Regions from separate parts of the Homo sapiens genome. Here region 1 is linked to region 2. The links are contacts of gene promoters, found by promoter capture Hi-C in blood cells and fetal thymus (Javierre and others, 2016). All regions are on one chromosome and are shown on one strand. The core of a region is centred on a gene start or on the middle of the fragment in contact, and the rest is flanking DNA. Distances in the headings are between cores, read along the strand shown.

Region 1 (4,187 bases), core at 1,099-3,598, 510 kb after region 2:
AGGGAGATATTTGTGACATTACAGATGCTATATCTGTTTAGTCCTCTTTTAAATAAAGAGTTGTGTGTGAAGATAAGTATACCTCTGATCAATTTATTCCAGGAACTATATATAGTGTTTTAACAGTGACCTACAAAATGCTTTTGGAAACACCATGTATGTCAGATCTTTAATTGCCAATAATTTGGAATACTTAAACCCAGTTTCTCTGCTTCCTGACACTGTACTGTCAAAAATTAAATTATCTCTTTTTTAAAAACCCTACTACAAATGCCCTGGAGTATATGAGAGAATCTTGAAATCACCCTTTTATTTTATTTTATTTATTTATTTTTGTTTTGGTAGAGAACAGACAGTAGCAAATCTGTAATTTTAATGATTTAAATAAGAAAGAAAAAATGATGACTGGGTAAATGGATTTGGCACGGAGTACATCCTGTACCTCTGATACCATTAATCAAGCCCGGCATTGGTGTGTAAAGCTTGCACCTTGAGTAGGTTTTAAGTACTTCACAGAAGGGTAATAATTTTGCACAGGCCCTAAAAAAAAGGCAGTCTAAAATTGTTTCATTTCTTTTTTTCCCCCCTCTTAGTTAAAATCTCCCAAATTCATATTACAGGAGGATCCCTTTTCCCCCAGAAATTACTCAATGCTGAAACCTCTCAAAGTGGTATTAGAGACGCTGAAAGCACCATGGACGGGTTTTATGATCAGCAAGTCCCTTTTATGGTCCCAGGGGTAAGTTTATGTGGCTTTTGGTTTGTTTTGTCCTCCCTCTCCAATATGAGTCTTCCCCCTGTGGACCTCTTTACTACACTTGAGCCTTCACTTTCTGTTGGCCTCTTTCAGAAATCTCGATCTGAGGAATGCAGAGGGCGGCCTGTGATTGACAGAAAGAGGAAGTTTTTGGACACAGATCTGGCTCACGATTCTGAAGGTAGTAAAGCTTTCCCTGATTATGTTGTGGCTTCCCTGCTCCCAGTGACAGTAGCGTGTAGATTCTTCCCTGTCTTCTCCCTAGCGAAAGAAATATCCTCATTCTGGGGTCTTCTTTTTCAATTTCAGAGCTATTTCAGGATCTCAGTCAACTTCAAGAGGCTTGGTTAGCTGAAGGCAAGTTTCATGGATGTCCTATTTTCCATATAAAACATTTTACTGTGCTTTTTAATAAAACTTAAAGGTCTAAAATAAAAATCTATTTTCCAGCACAAGTTCCTGATGATGAACAGTTTGTCCCAGATTTTCAGTCTGATAACCGTAAGTACCTTTCTGGTGATGGCACATTTGTTCTGAAATTGTTTGGTCTTAGATCATCCATGTCTAGAATATGCTTTTTTCAGCTATGGCCAGATTTAGACAGTAGTATGCATTTAGTTTCTTCTAATAATTCAGAATTAACCCTGAAAACTTTTATTTCATAATAAAATTATTTCTAAAGTATTTCTACTGTATTGCAGGTAAGATTTACTGAACATAATTTTATCCTAAATTTCTTTTTACCTTAAGAATATTGTAAAGCTGACTGGGCACAGTGGCTCACACCTATAATCCCAGGGCTTTGGGAGGCTGAGGCAGGTGGATCACTTGAGGTCAGGCATTCAAGACCAGCCTGGCCAATATGGTGAAACCCCGTCTCTACTAAAAATACAAAAATTAGCCAGGTGTGGTGGTGGGCGCCTGTAATCCAAGCTACTCAGGAGGCTGAGGCAGGAGAATCACTTAAATCCAGAAGGCGGAGGTTGCAGTGAGCTGAGATCGCATCACTGCACTCCAGCCTGGGCAACAGAGCAAGACTCCATCTCAAAAAAAAAAAAAAAAAGAATATTGCAAAGCTTTAAGCTCAAAATTATAAATTAACTGACAAAATATATTTGGTGTTAGGCCAAGCATCTATTAATCACACATTGTTTTATGGCTTTTTTGGGGTTTGTTTTATAAATTAAGTCCTTGATGTGAATCATGAACCTGATATTTCTCTTTTTCTTAAAGGTGCAGAAAATAGTTAATGGAAAACTCCAGTTAACTTTGGCTTCATCCAACATGTTGTCAATTTTGTCTCTACCCCTAAGCTGACAAGGGGTGGTCACAGAGTGGCCTGATTTACTCTTACTTTTCGTGTAGTTGCTGTGGCTTTTCTCTTCAGAGAAGAGAAACTTTTTCTTAAAATGGCCACTAAGTGCTCATTACTAGAGAGAAAATGCAGTGGGAAGCTCAAAAGATGGCTTTCAACACTGGCAGGGGCATGGTTACTTTGCACTGATCTTTTGGGGCTGTCCTCAACAGGTTTGGGAGCTTTTATGGTCTAGGCAGAGTTATGAAGGACAAAGCCGGCTGATGAAATTTGAGCAGCACAGGGCTGCTCTAGAGAGCATTAGTCACTGGCGAATGAGCAGGTTTAAGAGAGGCCTGGAGAAAATGCTGCCTCTCTTGAGAGTTGCATCATAGAGAAATTCATGTCTCTTAGTCATAGTTTATAATAGCAAGCACCTGAGCCATGCAAGGACTCAATTTCTCATTTTGGACCAACAGATTCTTCCCAGCTTTGTTTTATCTCTGGGTAGGTGGGTGTATGTGTGTAAAAATGCCACTGGAGAGAGAGTATCTTAGGTCTCTCTCTAAGTAAAAAGTTGGGTATTCCAAATCTTTTAAATGTAAGAGCAGAGGTAACAGCTAAACATTCCTTAATGATAGGCCTCATGTCCAAGGCACAATGCCATGAAACTGTAAAAGGGAATAAACTGGAACACACACATGCATGGTTACCTTAGCTTTGTCACAGCTTGCTGTGGATGTGTTCTATGGGAGAGTAAATGCATGTTAATTATTGCCCTTTGATTGCTTTCGAGTGATTGGGAAGCTTGCCACTGAAAGACTAAATAAAGATAATCCAAGTGTGTGTGTGTGTGTGTGTGTGTGTGTGTGTGTGTGTGTGTGTGTGTGTTTGCAAGATGAAAGACAGGGTTTGTAATCCAACTTTGTTCTGTGTTGACAATTTGGCCCAGCCTTTCCAGTTCTTGCTCAGAGCAGCATAAACTGCAGTCTGTTTGGGAGGTGGCTTTCTTGGCAGAGGTTCTTTGAAATGCTTTTATGACACTTTTGTTTGTTTCTCTGTAACCCAAAAGAGTTAAAAGGGAGATGAGATGGCTGCATTCAAATTGATTGCATGTGCTGAAGCAAGGGTATGTTCTTTGTCAGCAAGCAGGATTTATATTTGGAGAGATATTTATCTGTGGGAATAGGCTAAAGTGAAGAAATCAATAAATGTGTTTTGGCTCTTTAGAAATAATTTCTGCTCAGCAAATAGAATGTGCTAAGTTCTTTAATTAAAATTCCATACCTCAAGTGGAGGTAATTTGGGAGATGTTTCTGCTTACCAAGTATGATGTTTTTTTTACTTTGCTTACTTTTTGTTTTAACTGCCTAAGGTTGAGCCTTTCTGTCTTTTAAGGATAAAAGAGATGGTTGACTAGCCTAGAAAAGGTCTTCTAATGATTCTTTCCCTCTGACTTTATTTCTTGAGGTAGAGCTTCAAGAAGGGATAGATTCAAATAGAATAACTTGCTTAAGAAGCAAGGCAAGAACACAAATGTGGGTGGTGCATCTTTGAGCCATTCATTCTTGCAAAAGCAAGTTTGTTTGCCTGCAGTTCAGACCAACAGCCAGAAGCATGAGGAGGAGCTGGCAGAGCCCACAGCCGGCTGCATGCACTTACTTTTCCATGAGCGCTTTCCACAGCCTCGAGTTCAGGACCAGCTTCACTCCAGTCATTTTCTGGAAGAGCTCGTGATTTTTTTCAGGGGAGGGAAGAAAACTCATTCAAATTTAATGAAACCTTATGAGTTGGTTTGACTCACTTAACCAATGAATATAAGCCAAACTTAGATTTGCCAGGGGAAAGCAAACCTTTTTTTTTTTTTTTTTTTTTGGAGAGAGAGTTTTGCTCGTCACCCAGGCCAGAGTGCAATGGCGCAATCTCGGCCCACTTACTGGGATGTCCACGTCCCAGGTTCGAGCAATTCTCCTGCCTAAGCCTCCCGAGTAGCTGGGATTACAGGCACCTGCCACCATGCCTGGCTAATTTTTGTATTTTTAGTAGAGACGGGGCTTCACCATGTTTGCCAGGCTGGTCTTGAACTCCTGACCTCAGGTGATCCGCCCACCTTAGCCTCCCAGAGTGCTGGAATTA
Region 2 (4,581 bases), core at 301-2,800:
TGTTGCGTGTTCATTTCCCCTGACTTGATCAGCGTTTCCTCCTAACCACCACTGTGCTTTAATATGGCTGCAGCACTCTTAAAATCCATCCGGAGCAATCCTGATTTCAAATATTTTGTCTCTTTGTGAGACGGATGGCAGTCGTCAGTCGGTCCAGGCTTCCTGTTGTTGACCTTATTTTCCAACCTAGATTGTAAGCTCTTGTGGGCACATATTGTGCCTTTTTCACCACTGTATTAGGTTGAACCATTAAAACGGCCAATATTTGGTTGCTTTTGATATAGAAAAATGGCAGTTTTATATGGTTCAACCTAATATCTCTGGTTCTTGTCCAAGGAAGGCTTGTAATACATATTTGCTGAAAGAATTGTCCTTAATCAGAAATAAATCTAATTTCAAAACAGGCAGTAGGCAGACAGCTTCTTTCCACCTCTCCAAATCTCTTGACTGATCCCCGAGGCATATTTCCAGCTTGATTTTTCTTGTCACTGGCTTCAAGCTGCGTTGGTTTCCTGTCTAGTGTGTGAGGAGGTGAATTGTGTTTATGCCAAGACTTCTCTCTGGGATGTGGGTAACTCTCTTTGGGAGGCAGTTTGTGTAGAAGAAGGAACACAGATATGGAATCAAATCCCAGCCTGAAGACTTAGTAATTATATGATTTTGGACCAAAAAAAAAAAGACAAAAACAAAAAACAAAAAAACTGCACACACACACACAACAGAGCCTTGGTCTCCTCTTGGGTAAGACAAGAACAATATATGTACCACACAGCACCAGGAGGCAGGACCGGGAAAGAGTAAATGAGATAATCTATGTGAATGGGCCTGGCATATAGTAGGCATCTGCCAGATGCTAGTTTTATTCATTCTCAGTCTTTGTTAGAGAGAAACCAAACCAAAGACAGATACGTGATTTTCAGCCAGTGGTAACTTGGCAACTAGGAGCTGGTCTCTTGGGTCCTAGTTTTTCCAGCAAGTTACACTTTCTGTCTGTGATCTGCACACTACCATTTGAAGCACTTTTTCTCCTGCACACCACCTCACACCCCACCCAGCTCCCTCCTGACACCCATGACTGCCATACAGAATGTCTCCTCTCCTGCCCTCTGCCTGCCCCTTCCCTCACTCCTGGGAAGAAATCAGAGAATTTACTCCTCTGTGGTTTCATTTGCACTGGGTGATGGTGATTTTTTGAGGCACCTGATTGAGCTCCATGTACACATTATTTCAGCTCATAGACAGCAGGTCCACTTACCTGAGGCCACACCTTTACTTCATCAATCTGGTTCAAGGTGTGTTTGTATCCCCAAGGAAGGTTTTGATTGATGTAGTCTATAGCCACCAGAGCTGCTTCCTCAGTTTCTGGATCATCGCAGTTCGGTTGTCTATAAATCAGCCCTGGGCCATGTGGGGCTGAGTGGCAGCCCCAGAGCTGAGCAAGACAAAGGAGCAGGACGAGGGACTTCATGGCTGCCCCAGAGAGGCCCTGGCAGGCGTGCAGGTGGTTGGAGGCTTCGGGACCAACCCAGGTGCTCTGCTGGGAAAGGTAGACCCATGGAGGGTGGTGGGCTTTATTTATCTGTTGGAGCCTGCCGGAAGAATTGCATAAGGATACAGGATGATTTCTGCTTTGGTTCAAAAGAAAAAAAAAAACACCCTGCAAACATCAGCCCTGGAAAAGCAAACAGGTTAGGACATCGCTGGTCCCCAAGAAATCTGCCAAAGTCCATGCTGCTGTGGGGGAGATGCTCCAAAGTCTGCTTGGAACATGGTAATAGCAGCAAAGAGAAGACAGCTGAGGGAATGAGGTGGACACAGTCAGCCTCAGAGTGCCATGGGTTTGGCAGCAGAGGAAATGTCTTCTACTGTGATCTGAGCATGCCATGGGGTCTGTGAGAGGGAAGGGAGGATACTCAGCAATTTGATAAAATTCTCCAATGTCAGGGGGAGTTAGCTTTCCAAGAGGAGTCCTACAGGGAGAACAAGGCCCACAGATATAGCAAAGGTACAGATGTGTATAGGAGATGCCAAGATTTTGGGGGAAGATTCTTGGAGAAAAGAAAAAGGATGAGAGATGTTTCTGCCTAAAGTGGGGAATGGAGGTGGAAGAAGGGGGTTCCCGTGGCAGGACCACGGTGGGAAATGACCAGCAAAACGTGTGGGGTTCCCTGCCCCTTCTCTTCCTTCTCCAGACCTCACTGCCAGGGCCCTGCATGTGACAGCACAGATGGGCACTGACCAGAGTCTCCTAGCACTAGTAACCTAGTGCCCCTGCCAGTGCACAAGGGCAGCAGAGGGGAGTCCTGACTCATTTGACACAGCTCTGGGTTCGAGTCTGACACCGCAGGCTGAGATGCTGCACGAGCAGCTACGGACACAAATACCCCTTGAACATTCTTTGCAGACTCAGCAGAATTACAGTGTGTCTTTCTGGCCAGAACAGAGGGCCAGTGTTGACTCCAGGCACTGCCTATTAAGTGACCCTTGACAATTCCAAGTGTGACATCCAAGGAGGGTTGGCAGGATAAAGAGAGGCTTGGGAAATATCACACAAGGACCTGGTTTGGTTTAGTCTGAAGCAAAGAAGCCCTCTCATGGAGACCAACATGGTCTTCAAATATTTAGAGGCCATCATTGTGTGTGGGTGAATTTGTTCTAATGTTTGATATTGCTTCAGAGAAAAAAAAACTGGTTAAAAAAAAAAGAAAGAAGAGGGGCCCCTCCAAAGGGAAGCTTAATATTGATTTTCTGGGGTGAGAATCGGGGTGAGGGAGGTGAAGTGAGTGGTGATGGGGCAGAGAAGGTAGTTGGCAGGACTGTTCTCACATTTACTCCCAGCTGCTCACACACCACACCGAATCTTAATGTCAGAAGCTCAGAAGGTGTGGCCAGGACTCCAGGTTCTCTCCAAGAGGGGGACCATGATTCTTCCAGATGAAAAACAAACTCTGGTCATCCAGCAAGATGATCCTCAAAGCCAGGGGCAATCTTCCATCACCTTATACTCCATTTCACTCAGGGCCCTGACTCCTGAACTGTGTGTGGAAGCTATGCTTTTCTTTATATAATCTTTAAAAATATTGAAGGGCTGGGCACGGTGGTTCACACCTGTAATTCCAGCACTTTGGGAGGCTGAGGTGGGCAGATCACGAGGCCTAGAGATTGAGCCCAACCTGACCAACACAGTGAAACCCTGTCTCTTCTAAAAATACAAAAATTAGCTGGGCGTGGTGGCGCGCGCCTGTAGTCCCACCTACTCGGGAGGCCGAGACAGGAGAATCACTTGAACCCAGGAGGTGGAGGTTGCAGTGAGCCAAGATTGCGCCACTGCACTCCAGCCTGGCAACGGAGTGGGACTCCGACTCAAAAAAAAGAAAAATTGAATAAAGTGTGGTAAGGTGGCACACACCTGTAATCCCAACTATGAAGGCAGGATGATAGCATAAGACCTGGAGTAGGCTATGGTTGCAGTGAGCTATGATAGTGCCACTGCACTCCAGCCCAGCCAACAGAATGAGACTCTGTCTCAAAAAAGAAATCATTCACAATCTCATCATGCAGAGATAAACAGTGTTAATGTTTTGATGCATTTATATCTTTTCTTTTTTTCTATGTAAAATAATATTTTAATATAATTTTGATTATACTGCATATACAGCTGTTAAAATTTTTTCACCTATTGCTTTAACTTGAATATTTTCCTATGTCATTAAGTAGACTTAAAAACATGTTTACAGGCCAGGCACGGTGGCTTACACCTGTAATCCCAGCACTTTGGGAGGCCAAGGCAGGTGGATCATGAGGTCAACAGATAGAGAGCATCCTGGCCAACATGGTGAAACCCCATCTCTACTAAAAATACAAAAAATTGGCTGGGCGTGGTGCTGGACGCCTGTAATCTCAGCTACTTGGGAGGCTGAGGCAGGAGAATCACTTGAACCTGGGAGGCAGAGGTTGCAGTGAGGGGAGATTGTGCCACTGCACTCCAGCTTGGGCAACAGAGTGAGACTCTGTCTCAAAACAAAAAACAAAAAAAAACAAAAAAAAAACAAAAAACAAAAAAACAAAAAAACACACTTTTTTATTTAGGAATCTTTGGCTTTTGATTCTTTTTTTCAGGATAGATTTTTAGAAGTAAAATTATTGATTCTAATGATTTGCACATTTTTAAAGCTCTTAATTTTTATAGTCAAATAGTCTATTTGGCTATGCCAATTTATCCCCCTTCCATTTAGCTGTTGTGTGATGTCAGCTCAGCTGTTTTCTCTTTTCCTCTGTTACTGCTTTCATGCTGACTTTTGTGGGAACTTAGATATGTGAACACTCTCAGAATTCTTTTTTAAAAATGTAATTTATGAATATCTTTGCTTTTATCACAGCTACTCCATATGTCTAATACTTATAAACTAAAATAACTTTGGTATCAAGCTGAGTAAAATGATCCCTTAGATTTTTTCAGTTTCCTTAGAAAGAAATGTTGCCATTTACTTACTGGAAATGAGGAAGAAAATAGATGATATTTTGGTATGTTTTCCAAGATGGCTGTAGCATTAGTGCCAATGGGTAGTTCCCTGTGCCTGA

What was found. The method cuts DNA at HindIII sites, captures the fragments that hold promoters and counts their contacts. A CHiCAGO score of 5 or more calls a contact.
Region 1: a contact is called between a fragment that was not itself captured here and the fragment with the promoter of AHSG in region 2, in 1 of 17 cell types (activated CD4 T cells). The highest score is 5.2, in activated CD4 T cells.

What each region holds. Positions count from the first base shown.
Region 1 is chr3:186,102,376-186,106,562 of GRCh38, reverse strand. ETV5 (ETS variant transcription factor 5) reads left to right here. Exons shown (of 13, transcript NM_004454.3): 2 at 621-739; 3 at 851-938; 4 at 1,067-1,114; 5 at 1,208-1,258. The coding sequence starts at 695. Among named protein-coding and RNA genes, the nearest start is that of ETV5, 4.6 kb to the left of the region's middle. The HindIII fragment of the contact is 1,025 bases long and covers 1,836-2,860 here.
Region 2 is chr3:186,610,029-186,614,609 of GRCh38, reverse strand. AHSG (alpha 2-HS glycoprotein) reads right to left here and starts at 1,550. Exons shown (of 7, transcript NM_001622.4): 1 at 1,256-1,550. The coding sequence starts at 1,468. The HindIII fragment of the contact is 5,898 bases long and covers 1-2,735 here.